Regions from separate parts of the Homo sapiens genome. Here all the other regions are linked to region 1. The links are contacts of gene promoters, found by promoter capture Hi-C in blood cells and fetal thymus (Javierre and others, 2016). All regions are on one chromosome and are shown on one strand. The core of a region is centred on a gene start or on the middle of the fragment in contact, and the rest is flanking DNA. Distances in the headings are between cores, read along the strand shown.

The links. The method cuts DNA at HindIII sites, captures the fragments that hold promoters and counts their contacts. A CHiCAGO score of 5 or more calls a contact.
Region 2: a contact is called between a fragment that was not itself captured here and the fragment with the promoter of C21orf91-OT1 in region 1, in 8 of 17 cell types (activated CD4 T cells, naive CD8 T cells, total CD4 T cells and 5 more). The highest score is 10.6, in activated CD4 T cells.
Region 3: a contact is called between a fragment that was not itself captured here and the fragment with the promoter of C21orf91-OT1 in region 1, in 8 of 17 cell types (activated CD4 T cells, naive CD8 T cells, total CD4 T cells and 5 more). The highest score is 15.3, in activated CD4 T cells.
Region 4: a contact is called between a fragment that was not itself captured here and the fragment with the promoter of C21orf91-OT1 in region 1, in 3 of 17 cell types (total CD4 T cells, activated CD4 T cells and total B cells). The highest score is 6.7, in total CD4 T cells.

Annotation. Positions count from the first base shown.
Region 1 is chr21:17,789,592-17,793,758 of GRCh38, reverse strand. It overlaps C21orf91-OT1 (C21orf91 overlapping transcript 1), which reads left to right and starts at 1,250. Exons shown (of 4, transcript NR_038871.1): 1 at 1,250-1,282. C21orf91 (chromosome 21 open reading frame 91) reads left to right here. Exons shown (of 5, transcript NM_001100420.2): 5 at 178-4,167. The coding sequence ends at 344. All of the region lies in intron 2 of LOC124900465 (a long non-coding RNA gene), which reads right to left. The HindIII fragment of the contact is 3,892 bases long and covers 1-3,459 here.
Region 2 is chr21:17,880,570-17,884,736 of GRCh38, reverse strand. The region is part of intron 1 of LINC03147 (long intergenic non-protein coding RNA 3147); the gene reads left to right. All of the region lies in intron 2 of LOC124900465 (a long non-coding RNA gene), which reads right to left. Among named protein-coding and RNA genes, the nearest start is that of LINC03147, 3.0 kb to the left of the region's middle. The HindIII fragment of the contact is 6,627 bases long and covers 1-4,167 here.
Region 3 is chr21:17,703,854-17,708,020 of GRCh38, reverse strand. No RefSeq gene overlaps it. Among named protein-coding and RNA genes, the nearest start is that of C21orf91-OT1, 87 kb to the left of the region's middle. The HindIII fragment of the contact is 8,139 bases long and covers 1-4,167 here.
Region 4 is chr21:17,861,161-17,865,327 of GRCh38, reverse strand. The region is part of intron 1 of LINC03147 (long intergenic non-protein coding RNA 3147); the gene reads left to right. All of the region lies in intron 2 of LOC124900465 (a long non-coding RNA gene), which reads right to left. Among named protein-coding and RNA genes, the nearest start is that of LINC03147, 22 kb to the left of the region's middle. The HindIII fragment of the contact is 378 bases long and covers 2,297-2,674 here.

The DNA of each region.
Region 1 (4,167 bases), core at 1-2,500:
GCCTAGGATGATCAGAACTGATATGCTTTGTAGAGAACAGAACTGTTTCCTTGGTATCAAATCAGTTTCATTGTGACACTTTGCCCAATGCATAGATTTCAGTTAGAGTTCTTGAAATATAAATCATAGCACCGGCTTTCTGCATACTAAAAATGAAAGTTTTTAAATCTTTTACAGAAGTTTTTGAAGAGTTAACTCACCAAGTGCAAGAAAAAGATTCTTTGGCCTCACAGCTCCATGTCCGCCACGTTGCCATCGAACAGCTTCTGAAGAACTGTTCTAAGTTACCATGTCTGCAAGTAGGGCGAACAGGAATGAAGTCGCACCTACCCATAAACAACTGACCTAAACAGACTTACTTCGTATGCCCTGCCCTTTATTGGTCTCCCAGACATGCAAACTTTGAAGAAGTTTGAAGAAAGTTGTGGTCCGTTTTTTTATGGTCATTAAATTTGCCAAACATAAGGCAGTATTTAACATCTTTGTCAAATAAAGCAGATCATTATACTCTAGTCTTCTAGGGCTAATCATTTTGGCTCATTTGGGGACTCTTTTTTCCCAGAATTACTAAACAAATTTTATCACATGTGACTACTTAAATATACTGTTACAGTGTCATTTTATTAAACATTTTAATTCACCTGTCAAAACAACAGATTAACTCCTTAGTGTAAACTACTAGAGATAATTTTTAAGAGGGAAATGGAATTCATATCACCTCTTATTTATTATGAGCAATATTTTAATATAAAAATTTTATATGTGAAAATGCTATTTTAGGTACTTTGCCATTCTCTTTATAAATGTGTATTTGAGTGGTTCTGTATATTTATTTACATTATCATGTGTGAATATGTTCACCCATATTTCAGGTCACTGCATTTTATTCTCTTAATACAATGTTTTCACAACGGTTACCTTGCTTTCCAAAGATAAATATATTTTGGATTAGAAATCTGAGTTGTTTTAATTTCTAATACCTCTTGTAAAAGAAGAATTAATAACTTTTTAAAGCAGTATTCAGGTAAATACAATACATTATTTTGTTTTCTAACAAAAGCAGTTCTTAGTTCAGGAAGAAAAGACTAATCTGGCTTCTATGTCAATTTGTCTCCATAGAAATGAAAGCCTCCTCTTGCTTCTTTCATTATTAGCTTCACACCAGTGACTGTGATGCATTAGAATTTGGACAGAGTAAGTCAAGCCTCACTTCCAATTCAAATATAATGTCTATCTTCAAATTGAGTGTGCTGTGAAATTGTTCTGTCTTTGAAAAAAAAAAGTAAGATTATTTTGTGTGCCACTTTGGGTAAAGTTTCAAGAATACTTAAACTGTCCAAATTGTATTATCACCATCATTGAACTTAGTGCTCAAAGAAAGCATTGTGAGGTATTTTTCTAAACTTTAGACTCTATAGAGAAATATAGGATTGTTCTACAGAAGAAAAGCAAAACTCCTAATTAAAAAAAAATAAACCTATGTATTAAGAGAATGTTCTCGTAAGTTGCCTATGATGCTTCCAAAGAGTTTTTATCTAACAGATTGTGCCAAACAGCTAGATAAATTTTAATAATGTATTACAGTAAAGGCTATAACCAATGCAGAATTAAAATGGGCTCTAAATTCTGTTTTTAACTCATGTTTAGAATGTACTTATGAGGTAGATCCTTGCTTGAAAGTATCTGCTGAAAAGCCCAGTAACGTGGCAGCTTCATGCATAAAGATATAAATGACATTTGCCTTAAATTTGGCAGCCTACCCTGGCTTGGGTCAGATTTTGTTGTTGAACACAAGAAAGTATTTAAGCAAAGAAACACTTCAGTTTAATTGAAAACAACTTTTTGTAATGCTGACGTGTTAAATTGGCCTGAGGGTATTAATTGATATCTGTTGATTTTGTTTTTCTTTGAAGTATAACATTACTTTTTGGAGGGAATTTTTGAAAGATGCTTTCGATTTCTCTCAATTCTTTAAGTCATGCAAAATGAATTTAAAATCCAGGGAGTATGGATGCATTGCCTTAGTTTTGATGAGCTTTAAATTAAATGTGTGCAATATCAAAATATTCAAACTTACAAGCTGGGTAAATACATTTCCTGATTAATATCTTAGTGCTTAATTGTTCCCACATTTTCAAATTTGACTTTACTCTTTTTTGGCGTAATTCAGTAAGATTGTTACCAGCCAGTGTGTTTGCACACATTTGGGTTTGTGTTTAGATGAGTTAGGGACAGTCATAAAAGTTGGGGATATGTTGCATTTGATATCAATAGTAGCATATTTCCAGAATATGAGCCATAAGTTGCAGTCCTGAATACAACAGTGTTATCCAAAGAAAGGAGTTTTCTGACAAATATACATAGCTTTGCTAATGAGTACGGAACAAGTGGATGAACGTGTGCATGTGCTAAGGTCTTAAGTGGGACTCTGATTTATTCCATTTAGATATTTCTACTTAAGCTCTAAAAAGGAGAGGTGCTCTTAAAAAAAACTTTGTGGTGCTGGTACTCACACTACTTTATTTGGATGAGTTCCTAGTAAAAAAAACTTTTTGTTGAAGTATTTTGCACAGCAGTTTATCCAAATGTTTGGTAAACTTATAATTTAGTCCTATGTTAGTTTTCTTAATCAAATATGCAATTACTGTGTATGCAAATATAAGTATCAGGTACAGAGTTGAGTTCTAACAAGAGAACATGAAATATCACAAATATTGTTTTCCACACTTGGCTATTCTCTACAGTTGTTAGTAATTTTTGAGAATGTTTTGAAGCATATCTCATGTACTACTGTTTAAAAAGTGGCAAAACAGACTGCCAGTCATCCATTACTAAATTTTCAGAGCTTATATGATTAAGGGGAGTGAGATAAGACAAATCTTTTTCACGTTCAGTTTTATAATTTGACACGTTAAATTGAGTTTTAAAAATTAGAAAAGTGTTTTTGACCACACAGGTTGTTCTCTTTAAAGTTCAGCCTTATAATGAAGCTAAAAATCAATTATGTTTTACTTTGAGATTATCATCTTATCCTTTGATCCTCATATTAATATCTAAATTAGTCTTTTTTAAAAGGCATGCACTTGAGACTCCAGTAATAGATGATTCAGGCAGCAGAATAGTGTTTTGTTGTGTCGTTGACTATGCACAATGGTGGAGCAAAGACACATTCTTAGTTTTTCAAAACACATGTTCATTTTACCACAAAGTGCCCATTTTTATATACATTTAAGGATTATTTTTTCAATGTCAAGTTCATGTTAGTGATTTCAGAAATATAGTCAAAATATATAGTCAAATATATCTTGACAGGCATCTTGAGATTTGGTTTTTCATTTTACTATATTTATGACTGAAAATGGTTTTGTGTTTTCTTTATGTTGTTTATATATTTTTTACCTTAGTGTTTACACTGGTAAGGCTTGTTAGTCCATTTTTGTAGTTTTTTTAAAGTAAGCTTTTAGATCTATTTGTGTTTTAATGTTTCCCAGTTTGGGTTTTGTTTTGTTTTGGAAGAATCTGCTTTCATTATTAAATTATAAAATGTAAATGCTCTAAAGTAGGAATTTTTAAAGAGTAAATTATTTGTGTAGCTTATTAGGAGGTTCAGGTTAGTGACCATAAAGTGGGTTACTTGTACATGAAAATTTGAAATGGTACCATGTAAAATTCTTCTATTGTCAACTTTTTCTGATGTATGCCAGTTCATTTACTGACAAATGTTGTTACTAAGTGCTTATTAAGAAGTGTAATACGCTATAAAAAAGTTAATACTTTTTGTTCAGATGTAAGGCAAAGATAATTGATGCCGTTTCAGTGTATGATTGTATTTTTAACTTTTACGTTGGTGGGAGTAACTATTTGAGGAAATTTGTGGTGAGAATTAGTAAGAGATAAAACCCCCAACAGTTTATTCTTACCAAGTAAAGTTTTGTGGTCATGGGGCAGGGAAGAGTTTATTTACCAGAATACTAGAGCCCTCACACAAAATAAAGGTAACTTGGAGGAGGGCTATAATGCTTGCATCTCAGTATTTTCATTTCACTTCATCCTTTCATAATTGCCTTGATTATGGTGCAGTCTAACCTATTAAGCAACTTCTGGCTATGGTAACATTGATATGAACCATATTATATCAAGTCTCCAAAACATCTAGTTTGTTAACAT
Region 2 (4,167 bases), core at 428-2,927, 91 kb before region 1:
AAGATGTAAAAGATGAGATATCTTTTCACTCTATCCAGTCTCAAGGTCTTAAGCAATGTCTACCTTTAAAGAATTATACCATGCGTGATGCCCCTAATTAACTGTTTTGTTTTAAAATGCCTTTGCTATTAAAATGTTTATTCACATTATTTTGTGTCATAGTGAGAGTAACGTGCATTTTTGAAAGCCATTATCGGCCAGGCGCGGTGGCTCACGCCTGTAATCCCAGCACTTTGGGAGGCCGAGGCAGGCAGATCACAAGGTCAGGAGATTGAGACCATCCTGGCTAACACAGTGAAACCCCGTCTCTACTAAAAATACAAAAAAATTAGCCGGGCGTGGTGGCGTCCGTGTGCCTGTAATTCCAGCTATTCGGAAGGCTGAGGCAGGAGAATCGCTTTTGAACCCGGGAGGCGGAGGTTGCAGTGAGCCGAGATCACGCCACTGCACTCCAGCCTGGGCGACAGAGCGAGACTCCGTCTCAAAAAAAAAAAAAGAAAGCCATTCTCTAGCGTATTCTTTATAAATTTTGCCCAAAGATTATTATTATGCTCTATTCTTTTTAAGTGGTAGTTTAAAATGATTACATTTCAAATGTCTCAACAGTATTTTGATTATTTTATTCAGTTGATATTCAAAGATTAAGCTGAAGAATACAATCTTGATTTTATAGATGAAGAAAGACTTTTAGGCCATGACCAAGATTGTGAGGGCTGGTCTTATAAATACGTGGTATGACATGAGGATTCTAGAAAGTTCCACCTGCCCAAATATATTTCATCTACTTGCCAGGGCACCAAGGATGCTTTACTAAAAATTCATAGCTTTCAATTTCAAACATTTGTTGACCATCATTAATCCTATACTAAAGTGCCAATATCCCTGCAAGGGATCTTGTAATGTCTACATTAAAAGTCATTAACAAAGAATAACTTTCAACAGCATTTCCCAACAGGTATCTGATACATGACTAAGGGGTTCCATGATCAAATATGATGAAGAAATACTGAACATTATTTTTCTCTCTTACAGAGTCACAATATATATTAGCATATAAAAAACTCTGAAGAGTTCAACGATTATTTTTTAAAGGAATTTTAAACTTTTCAAAACTCAGCAAGTCCAAAACTCTTAACTCTTAGGGCTCCAATGGCATTTATGACTGCTATGAGAATTATAATAACAGCTAGCTGAGAGCAAGATGCCAAAATTAAACAAAAGACCGCCAACTGTATTGGAGCCAGAAAGGGGCACTCAAATGGCTAAGAAACTGCTGATAGTGAAGATGAACGTTTCCCAAGGAAAAACTGGATTTGTTCAACTCTTTTTCTTGGACTGGTTCTTGGAATTTTATCTATGGATAAAATTCATCTTGTCTAGGCAGCTTCGTTTCGTCAGAGCCAAGTCCCCACATAATCGCATCCATTGAGATGCATTTTAAGGTTATATCACTATTATCTAAAGACAACACAAGAAGTCGTCATATAGATTCCATTCATGTGCTTGCTATTTGGAAGAAGTCAAGCATGTTGTCTATTATCTTGTTCAGTGCCCCTTATATAAAGCACCACATTGAAAATGCTTTTCAGAACTTAGTGCTAAAAACAAACAGTTTTGCCTTCCCTGAGGAACTGAAATCCTCTTTCCTTTCTGAAAAAGAGCAATAGGTCTTTCTGCTTGCTTTGATTGCCAGGAAACCCAAAGCCTAATGTCAGCACAAGTATAATAACCACATAGGCCTTTACGGTCTGAAAGATTTTTTCTTTCTTTCTTGCTATTTGCTTTTTTTTTTTTTTTTTTTTTGAGAAAGATCTCCCTCTGTCACTCAAGCCGGAGTGCAGTGGAGCGATCTTGACTCACTGAAGCCTCACCTGTTGGACTCAAGCAATCACCCCACCTTAGCCTCCCGAGTAGCTGGGACTACAGGTGTGCACCACCACATCTGGCTAATTTTTGTATTTTTGTAGTGACAGGGTTTCTCCATAGTGCCCAGGCTGGTCTTGAACTCCTGAGCTCAAGTGATCCACCCACCTTGGCCTCCCAAAGTGCTGGAATTACAGGTGTGAGCCACCACGCTGGGCCAAAAGTTTTTTCTTGACTCCGTACTCTTATTAATGCCTCCTTTGGTCATGACTGAGTTTCTCAGTCTCCATTTGTTTGTTGTGTGTGCTTGTCATAAATCATTGCAATCCCATTCAGAAAGGTGAGGGAGGATAGGTGAGAAGATGGAAAGATTATAAAAGACAAACAGAGGCCAGGCGCGGTGGCTCACGCCTGTAATCCCAGCGCTATGGGAGGCCAAGGCGGGCAGATCACAAGGTCAGGAGATCGAGACCATCCTGGCTAACATGGTGAAACCCTGTCTCTACTAAAAATACAAAAAAATTAGCCAGGCATAGTGGCAGGCACCTGTAGTCCCAGTTACTCAGGAGGCTGAGGCAGGAGAATGGCATGAATCAGGTAGGTAGAGCTGGCAGTGAGCCCAGATTGTGCCACTGCACTCCAGCCTGGGCAACAAAGCGAGACTCCATCTCTGAAAAAAAAAAAAAAAAGACAAACAGAAATGACTGGCTCCTGTATCTGTATGTAACACACCACCAGTACCTTACATGGGGCCTGGTATATCGTTGACACCTAATAATTTTTTTTTTATTATACTTTAAGTTCTGGGATACATGTGCAGAATGTGCAGGTTTGTTATACAGGTCTACACATGCCATGGTGGTTTGTTGCACCCATCAACCCGTCATCTACATTAGGTATTTCCCCTAATGCTATCCCTCCCCTAGCTCCTGACCCCCTAACAGGCCCCCCGTGTGTGATGCTCTTCTCCCGGTGTCCATGTGTTCTCATTGTTCAACTCCCACTTATGAGAACATGCAGACACCTAATAATTTTTAATATTTCTAAGTGAAGAAGTGTTCTTGATAATATTTACCTCATAGCTGGGCACAGTGGCTCATGCCTGCAATCCCTAATAATCAGGCAGCTATACTCAGGCCATGAGTTCAAGATAATATTTACCTTATCAAGATCTCCAAGGAGACATGCTTCTTATCAAAATGTATGGCAAAGATACTGTGCACAGGTTAAGGCTGCCAGCTCTCATCACTGCTTGTGTTGAAGGAATTCCATTGCAGATAGGCTGAGGAATAACCTCAGAACAGTCAGTGAGCACACACCAGGGACAGGCCAGAGAACTTAGGAGGTAACATCTAAGAGAGACTGTCTCCTTTGCGGATCTGCAGAGGGCTACGAGTCTGTTAACCCATTCTGCTGAAAACAACAGATTTGCTAATAAGGCAAAGTTAGGATGAGACATGACTCAGAGAGTAGATAAACACACATACACACACACATACCCAAACACAAACACATACTCAGCGAATGTGTTTGGGTAAGGAGGAGTGAATTTGAAGGGGAAACCCCAAATTACCTATTCAGAATACATTCTGTAATAAGGAGAAATTGCAGGACAAGCATTTGTTTTACAGAGGGCTCCAAAACGTGTAGTAAATATACAGTTGATTGGTCCCATCATAGAAACCACACTCAGATATGATTCCTGAATAGCACTGCCAACTTTATTATCCAATAGTAGCCAGAACTATGAGTATTTTAGTGTTATGACTTGGAGTCAAAAAGCCTTTTCTCATGCCTGAGAAACCAGCAGGCAGAGAGTAAGTACTAGAATCTATAGAGATGGGGAAGCTATACCAGGAGTGTTGATTTTGATTTTCATTTTCCAAAGGCACAATTATCTGCTGATCTGAAGGGCCCCTTGCATGTGATACCTTGTAGTGTAACTATTTTGCAGAAATTGTTGGAGGGGTAACATTATTGCTTGTGTAATTTTCCCAATGGAAACTGCATCTATTTATTCATCTCAACAAACACAAATAGCTTTCCATGCCCAGTCACTGGGGCAGAGGGTGTACAAAACCAAATAAAGCACAGTCCTTGCCTTACAAAGGTTAAGGGTCCCAAAGTTCTGGTCTTATTTTTGTAAATGGACCTTTAGTCTCTCAAAATCCTTGCCCTGCTGAGGCAGAGAGAGGGTGAAGTATGCAGCTGTGAGTGGCATCATATTCTTAATGAGTGCACTTGTTTTCAGCTCTTTATTATTAACAACTTAGTTCTAAAGCCCCATATGCACTCAGAAGTGAA
Region 3 (4,167 bases), core at 467-2,966, 86 kb after region 1:
TAAATAACTCCCACATGCTTAGTGTTCCAATAATGGAACACTAGGCTAATACCTAGGTGATGGGATGATCTGTGCAGCTAATCACCATGGCACATATTTAACTATGTAACAAATTTGCACATCCTGCACATGTACCCCTGAACTTAAAATAAAAGTTGGACATAAAAATAGAGTCTTTGCTTGCTAATGGTCTATCAATTTTATTTATCTTTTCAAAGAACCAGCTTTTTGTTTTATTTATATTTTGTATTGATTGTTTCAATTTCATTTAGTTCTGTTCTGATCTTGGTTATTTCCTTTCTTCTGCTAGGTTTGGGTTTGGTTTGTTCTTGTTTCTTTAGTTCCTTGAGGTGTGACCTTAGATTGTATTCTTTCGGACTTCTTGATGGAGGCATTTATGGCTATGAAGTTTCCTCTTAGCACCACTTTGCTGTATCCCAGGGGTTTTGATAATTTGCGTCACTCTTGCCATTCAGCTCGAAGAATTTTCTAATGTCCATCTAGATTTCATTTTTGACCCAATGATCATTCAGGTACAGGTTATTTAATTTCCATGTATTTGCATGGTTTTGAAGGTGGTTCCTTTTGGAGTTGATTTCTAGTTTTATTCCACTATGGTCTGAGAGAGTGTTTTTCTTAAATTTATTGAGACTCATTTTATGGCCTATTATATGGTCTATCTTGGAGAAAGTTCCATGTGCTGTTGAATAAAATGTATATTCTGTGGTTGTTGGGTAGAATGTTCTGTATAAATCTGTCAAATCCATTTGTTCCAGGGTATAGTTTACACTGATTGTTTCTTTGTTGAATTTCTGTCTTGATGACCTGTCTAGTGCTGTCAGTGGAGTACTGAAGTCCCCAACTATTATTGTGTTGCTATCTCATTTCTTAAGTCTATTAGTAATTGTTTTATAAATTAGGGACTTCCAGTGTTAGGTGCATATATATTTAGGATTGTAATATTTTCCTGTTGAACAAGACATTTTATCATTTATATAATGTCCCTCTTTGTCTTTTTTAACTGCTGTTGCTTTAAAGTTTGTTCTGTCTGATATAGGAATAGCTACTCTTGCTCACTTTTGGTGTCCATTTGCATGGAATGTCTTTTTCCATCCCTTTAAGTTTATGTGAGTCCTTATGTGTTAGGTGAGTCTCTTGAAGGCAGCAGATGGTTGGTGAGTTCTTATCCATTCTGCAATTCTGTATCTTTTAAGGGGAGCATTTAGGCCATTTACATTCAACATTAGTATTGAGATGGGAGTTACCATTTCATTCATCATACTATTTGTTCCCTGTATACCTTGGTTTTTTTGTTTTTTGAGGGTTTTTTTTTTATATTGCCTTTTTGTTTTATAGGTCCTATGAGATTTATGCTCTAAAGGGGTTCTGTTTTCATGTGTTTCCAGGATTTGTTTCAAGATTTAGAGCTCCTTTTAGCTGTTCTTGTAGTGCTGGCTTGGTAGTGGCGAATTCTTTCAGCATTTGTTTGTCTAAAAAATACCATTTTTCCTTCATTTATGAAGATTAGTTTCACTGGATACAAATTCTTGGCTGATAATTGTTTTGTTTGAGGAGGCTGAAGATAGGTCCCCAATGTCTTCTAGCTTGTAGGATTTCTGCTGAGAAATCTGCTGTTAATCTGATAGGTTTTCCTTTATAGGTTTCCTGGCGCTTTTGACTCACAGTTCTTAAGATTCTTTCCTTCATCTTAACTTTAGGTAATCTGATGACAATGTGTCTAGGTGATGATCTTTGTGCAATGAATTTCCCAGGTGTTCTTTGTGCTTCTTGTATTTGGATGCCTAGGTCTCTAGCAAGGCTAGGGAAGTTTTCCTCAATTTTTCTCCCAAATATGTTTTCCAAACTTCTAGGTTCCTCTTCTTCCTCAGGAATGCCAATTATTCTTAGGGTTGGTAGTTTAACGTGAACCCAGACCTCATGGAGGCTTTGTTCAATTTTTCTTATTCTTTCTTCTTTGTCTTTGTTGGATTTGGTTAATTCAAAGAACTTGTCTTCAAGCTCTGAAGTTCTTTCTTCTGCTTGTTGAATTCTATTGCTGAGACTTTCCAGAACATTTAGCATTTCTATAAGTGTGTCTATTGTTTCCTGAAATTTTGATTTTTTATTTATGCTATCTATTTCATTGAGTATTTCTCCCATCACTTCTTGTATCTTTTTTTTTTATTTCCTTAGATTGGGCTTCACCTTTCTCTGTTGCCTCCCTGATTAGCTTAACAACTAACCTCCTGAATTCTTTTTCAGGTAAATCAGGGACTTCTTCTTGGTTGGAATCCATTGCTGGTGGGCTAGTGTGATTTTTTCTTGGGTGGTGAAGAACATTGTTTTGTCATATTGCCAGAGTTGGTTTTCTGGTTTCTTCTCATTTGTCACAGAGGTCTAAGGCCAAAGGCTGTTGTTCAAATTGTTTTGTCCCATGGAGTGTTCCCTTGATGTAGTACTCTCCCCCTTTTCCTAGGGATGTGGCTTCCTGAGAGCCAAGCTGTAAAGATTGTTATCTCTCTTCTGGATCTAGCAACCCAGCAAGTCTACCAGGCTCTGGGCTGGTACTGGAGGTTGTCTGCACAGAATCCTCTGATGTGAACCATCTGTGAGTCTTTCTGCCATTGATACCAGCATCTGCTCTGGTGGAGGTGGTGGGGGAGTAAAATGGGCTCTGTGAGGGTCCTTGGCTTTGGTTGCTTAATGCACTATTTTTGGGTTGGTTGTCCTCCTGCGGAAGGTGGTGATTTCAAGAGCATCAGCGGTAGTAGAATGGGGAGGAACAGGTGGTGGGGGGCACCACCACCCCCTTGAACTCCCAAGAGTATATGCCCTTTGTCTTCAGTTACCAGGGTAGGTAGGGAAGGACCATCAGGTAGAGGCAGTGGCAGGCGTGTCTGACCTCAGACTCTCCTTGAGCGGTCTTGCTGCAGCTGCTGTGGGGGATGAGGTTGAGATTCCCAGATCAACAGTTATGTTCCTAGGAGGATAATGGCTGCCTCTACTGGGTCATGCAACTTGTCAGGGAAGTGGGGAAAAGCCAGCAGTCATAGGCCTCACCCAGCTCCCACACAACCCAAAGGGCCAGTCTCACTCCCACCGTGCCCCCAGTAACAGCACCAAGTGTGTTTCCAGGCAGTGGGTGAACAGGACTGAGAACTTGCCCCAGGCTACCCACTTTCCAGCTGTGAAAGCAATTAGGGCTTTTATTCTTCACCTGCCTGTGGAGTCCGCACACTGGATTCATGTCCTCCCCTGAGTTCTGGCCAGGGGGCTTCTCAATCAGTTCATATTGTTAGCAAATTTCAGCTGGAGATTTTCTTCTCCCTGTGGCCTTTTCCCAGTGCCTCTGGCCACTCTTCCCAAGGGCCCCTGTGAGGCAGGGCAGAAATGGCTTGCTAGGGAACCCAACAAGCCCACAGGACTTTTCCTGCTGCTTCCTCTACCCCTGTATTTCACTCGGCTCTCTAAATTGACTCAGCTCCAGGTAAGGTCAGAATCTTCTCCCATAATCTAAGCCTTCAGGTTCTCTTGTGCAGGGGTATGTGTTCTGGGGTGCATGATCTTCCTTTCTCGCTTCCACAGTTTGGGCACTCATAGTATTTGGGGTATCTCCTAAGTCCTGCAGGAGCAATCCACTTCCTTCAGAGGGTCTGCTGGTTCTCTTGGCTTTCCTAATGTATTCCTGCAGTCATTCTGGAGCAAAAGTTCGTGATGCAAGCCTCCACATGCTGCTCTGTCTGTCTGAGTGGGTGCTGCAATCTAGTCCTGGCTTCCATCTGCCATGATCCCTGGATTATACATTTTAAATAAGTCTGGTCTATCAGCCTTAAGGTCTGTGTTGATGTTAATGGTAATGAGGCATGTCCAACTCCTCCTTCCCATCATGCCTTGAACTAGCTTTTCAGTTTAACTTTGGAATGTCCTTGGCCTAGAGGAGGGTCCATTCAGATGGTTGGAGGCGCTTAGAATTTTACTTTTGATTTATAGTACTAAATTCCACTGAATTCTTCACTTTAAAATGGTAATTTTTATTTATTCTATTTATTTTTTTAAGGTCCTTCCCCTGCCCTTAAAAAATGATAATTTTTTTTACACAAATTTTACCTCAGTAAAAAAGTAAAATGTTTTTTAGAAAGCAAGTACACACCGCCAGGCGCGGTGGCT
Region 4 (4,167 bases), core at 1,236-3,735, 70 kb before region 1:
TCTCGTTCACAGCTAGTAGTTATTATGGAGGCTGCATAGTGCCTAATTAAGAAATAAAGACAGAGTAATTAGCATTCTTTCAAGGATTTACAACCAAGAAAGCATTAATAAAACATCCTATATATACTCTAAATTACATGTATCTATATGTATGCACAGATATAAATACTTATGAAGACAGCAAACATAAATTATTAAGTTAGTCTGTCTATAAAGTATGAAATAAAATGATAAAAAACAAAATACACATGCGCAAATTTCAAGAATACACAGGATTTCAGGTCTGTGACTTAACAGTTTTCGTATTTTGTGTTTCTAACTATTGACTTGTTTACCTTATCCCCTCTTTTTTTTTTTTTTTTTTTTTTGAGATGGAGTCTCACTCTGTTGCCCAGGCTGGAGTGCAGTGGCACAATCTCGGCTCACTGCAACCTCCGCCTTCCAGGTTCAAGCAATTCTTCTGTCTCAGCCTCCAGAGTAGCTGGGACTACAGGTGCATGCCGCCACAATTGGCTGATTTTTTCTTTGTATTTTAGTAGAGACAGGGTTTCACTGTATTGCCTAGGCTGGTCTTGAACTCCTGAGCTCAGGCAATCCGCCCGCCTCGGCCTCCCAAAGTGCTAGGATTACAGGCATGAGCCACCACACCTGGCCACCTTATCCCCTCTTTAGGGCCATCACAGGCCATTTTCCCACTGTATTGACTCAGTTTAAACTCTATTCAGTTGATACTTAGACGCTGACACCATGTAGCCTTTTTCCAGGCACTTAACGCTAACTTTTTCTTTTTTTGGACACAGGGTCTCAGTCCCCTAATCCAAGCTGGAGTGCAGTGGTACAATCATGGCGCACTTGTGCAGCCTTTACTTCCCCAGGCTCAATCAATTCTCCCACCTCAGCCACCCAAGTAGCTAGGACTTCAGGTGTGTGCCACTACACCTGGCTAATTTTTTGTATTTTTAGTAGAGAAGAGGTTTTTGCCATGTTACCCAGGCTGGTCTTGAACCCCTAAACTCAAGCGATCCACCCACTTTGGCTTCTCAAAGTGCTGGGATTACAGGCGTGAACCACCGCACCTGGCCAACCCTAACTTTTTCACATCATCAGTGCCCATTCTCTGAGTGACTGTGATTTAGGGTCTGTGCCACTAACCATTTCTGTGTTAAATTCCTTGGGCTCCTCCCTTCCAGTTAAATCTATGTACAATTCTTTCTTCAAATATTCATTCCTTTCTGAGCCATTTAAAATCTATATCTGAAAAAGCCTTGATCCTGAAGGCAAAACATTTTGTGTTGTTTCACTGATAAGGATAAATGGTAGGATATAAGAGCAAAAGTCTTTAGACTCTAAGTGCCATAACTTGACCCTAGTGTTTTGCACTTAACAGGTGCTTGCTATTGTTAATAATAAGCAACTTGCCCAAGGTTCATTCATTAATTGGCTCAGTAAATATTAAGTATCTACTATGTGCCTAGCACTGTGCTAGGCCATAGATAATCCAGTGAGCAAAAATGGGTACAGTTTCTAATTATGTGTTGTGGGGGAGACAGATATTTAGCAAATAATCACAGAAATGAGTTTCTAATTGCAAACTGAGACAAGTGCTATGAAGAAAAAGAAATATGGTTTTATGAGTTTGCTAAATGCAGACTAGATTGTTTTAGACTAACCATCTTACTGAGAAAACTAAAAAAAAAAAAAAAAGGATTTAAAAAAAAAATGTTTGAATGTGTCATAAAGCTACCAAGATTGAGAGCTCTTGATGGGCCAAAATCCAAGAAAGGAGGATATTGCTGAGAGGTGAACCCGACAGTCAGGATGACTTTTCCTCTTAGGGCATTTGCTAATTCTAGTTGTAAGTTCAGAAGATGAGCACAGCTTGCTATAGAGTGATAAGAGCTGGGGAATAAAAGTTAAAGACTCATGAAGTGGCTAGGCACACTGGCTCACCCCTATAATCCCAACATTTTGGGAGGCCAAGGTGGGAGGATCCCTTGAGCCCAGGAGCTGGAGACCAGACTAGACCATATGGCAAAACCTAGTCTCTATTAAAAAAAGAAAACAAGAATTAGCCAGGCATGTTGGCAAGTGCCTGTAGTCCCAGGAACTCAGGAGGCTGAGGTGGAGGATCGCTTGAGCCTAGGAGGTGGAGGATGCAGTGACCCACGATCTCTAAAAACAATAAATTAATAAATAAAAAATAAAAAAATTTAAAACACACACACACACACACACACACACACACACACACACACAAAGAAAGGGAGGCTTGGATGCTTTGATAAACTCCAAAGCTTTCAGTTGATAAAATAAGGTACTTATGACTGCCCTTCTCCATTACTTATTCCATGTGCCTTTGTCTTTAACCAGCACTCCAGATAGTCGTGGCCCTTCAACCAATAGGTGACTCAGAATCTTAGTCCTAAAGTATAATACCTGAGCCATAGATTATTCTGCTTATAAAGTGATGTTTTAGCTTTTGTTAAATTTTACTATTGGGCATGGCTGTACTAGGAGGAAATTCAGATTATTATTTTAGCACTATCATGCCTCTCTCTGTGCCCACTGTGTAGTAAAACCCTTGACAGGATTAATTAGTTAACAACATAACTTCCTTTTGCTCATTTACTCAGTGGCATGAAGAACTCTGAATGGGTAAGCTATAGTCTAAGCTTCAAATTTAAAGGAATCATTTGCCAAATATCCCAGAAGGAAACATTCTTCTCTTCAATACTAAAATCTTCAAAGTCTGAAAGAGTGAGGATGGGAGGTAAAACATTTGTAAATAGATTATTAAATGATTTCACTTTCTCCTATTTAGGGAGAAACTCTACTCTCACTTCCAGCCTATTGTCTCCAAATGCATGTATTCAGTTTGTGGGAGATATAATACTGTATACTGATCCTTGGCTAAAAGGATATTACGAGACAGTCCTCTAGTCACAAGGTGTTGTGTCTAAGCTCTCCTATATGTGAGACTCCGATCGGCCATAGCTGTTTCTGAGCCTTGGGTATCTTAGACTTGTCAATCACCCTTTGCCTCACTTTTTTTTTCACTGTAAAATAGACTTCCTTGATCAGAGAAAGGCTGGGTGGAATATCATAACTGTGTATAAAATAGTCATTCCATGTATAGTGGTACTGAAGCAAAATTAGGAAGAAAGGCAAATTAAAATCTAAAGTGTCATAGCCTCCTCCTTGATAGAAGTCTCGCTGCCCTCCCTAGGGCATGGTATTGTATTACAAGCTCAGGGTTAATTGCTGTTTCTGGAAAGTACACAAGGTCAGATTTTTTAGAAAAAGTCCATGTGTTAATGTCTGTCACCATATCCACTTTAATCAAGTACTAAGGAAATCAGAAAAAAGCCGACTGACATAAATAGTGAGTCATCTTGTCCACCTGATAATTAAAACCCTCATTCACTGTAGCCTTTTGTTGGTCAGTTGCATAGGCTATATTTAGTCACACTTAGAAACCCCATTCAGAGGGGTCCATACGTAAGTGTCTTCCCCAAACACTTTGTGATCAATCTTACAATTCTGCTTCTTTTAGTTCCCTGACAATCTGATTATACCATTAACCACTGCCCATCAATCAGTACAGATACCTACCTGGGGCTTTCTACTAACTGACAAAGTGGACAATAAGATAAATTGTTTACATTTCTTTTCACTGGGAGAATTTCCATTTTGACTGTCCTTCAGGACCACTCCTGAGGGTGAAAGTAATGCCTCAGCAATCTATTTCTGGTTGGTACACAAATATGCAGAGCCATCCTTTTAAAAGAATCAAATGTTTTCCTCTTCAGTCAACTGATATGAAGAAATTCCCCCACAAGAGCACAGTGGCAGCAGGAGGAGGCAAGGTGGGTGTTCATAAAGTTATTTATGCAACTTATTTCTGCCTTCACAATTGACGTGGACCTAATCCTGGATATTAGTGGAATCCACTTCCACTTGCTGATGAAGGACTTCTGACCGTGTCTAACTTCAATGTTGGTTTCTAATTTTCCACTGCTTATAATTCTCTATCTTTCATCTTTGTGGGAAATAATCCAATCAGGCTCCACTCTATACCTCTGACTTCATCTCCTACTAGTATCACCCTGGTTCACTCCACTCCATGGGGCCAGTTAAGGTCCCAATCTTTCCCCTGGTCCTTTCTGC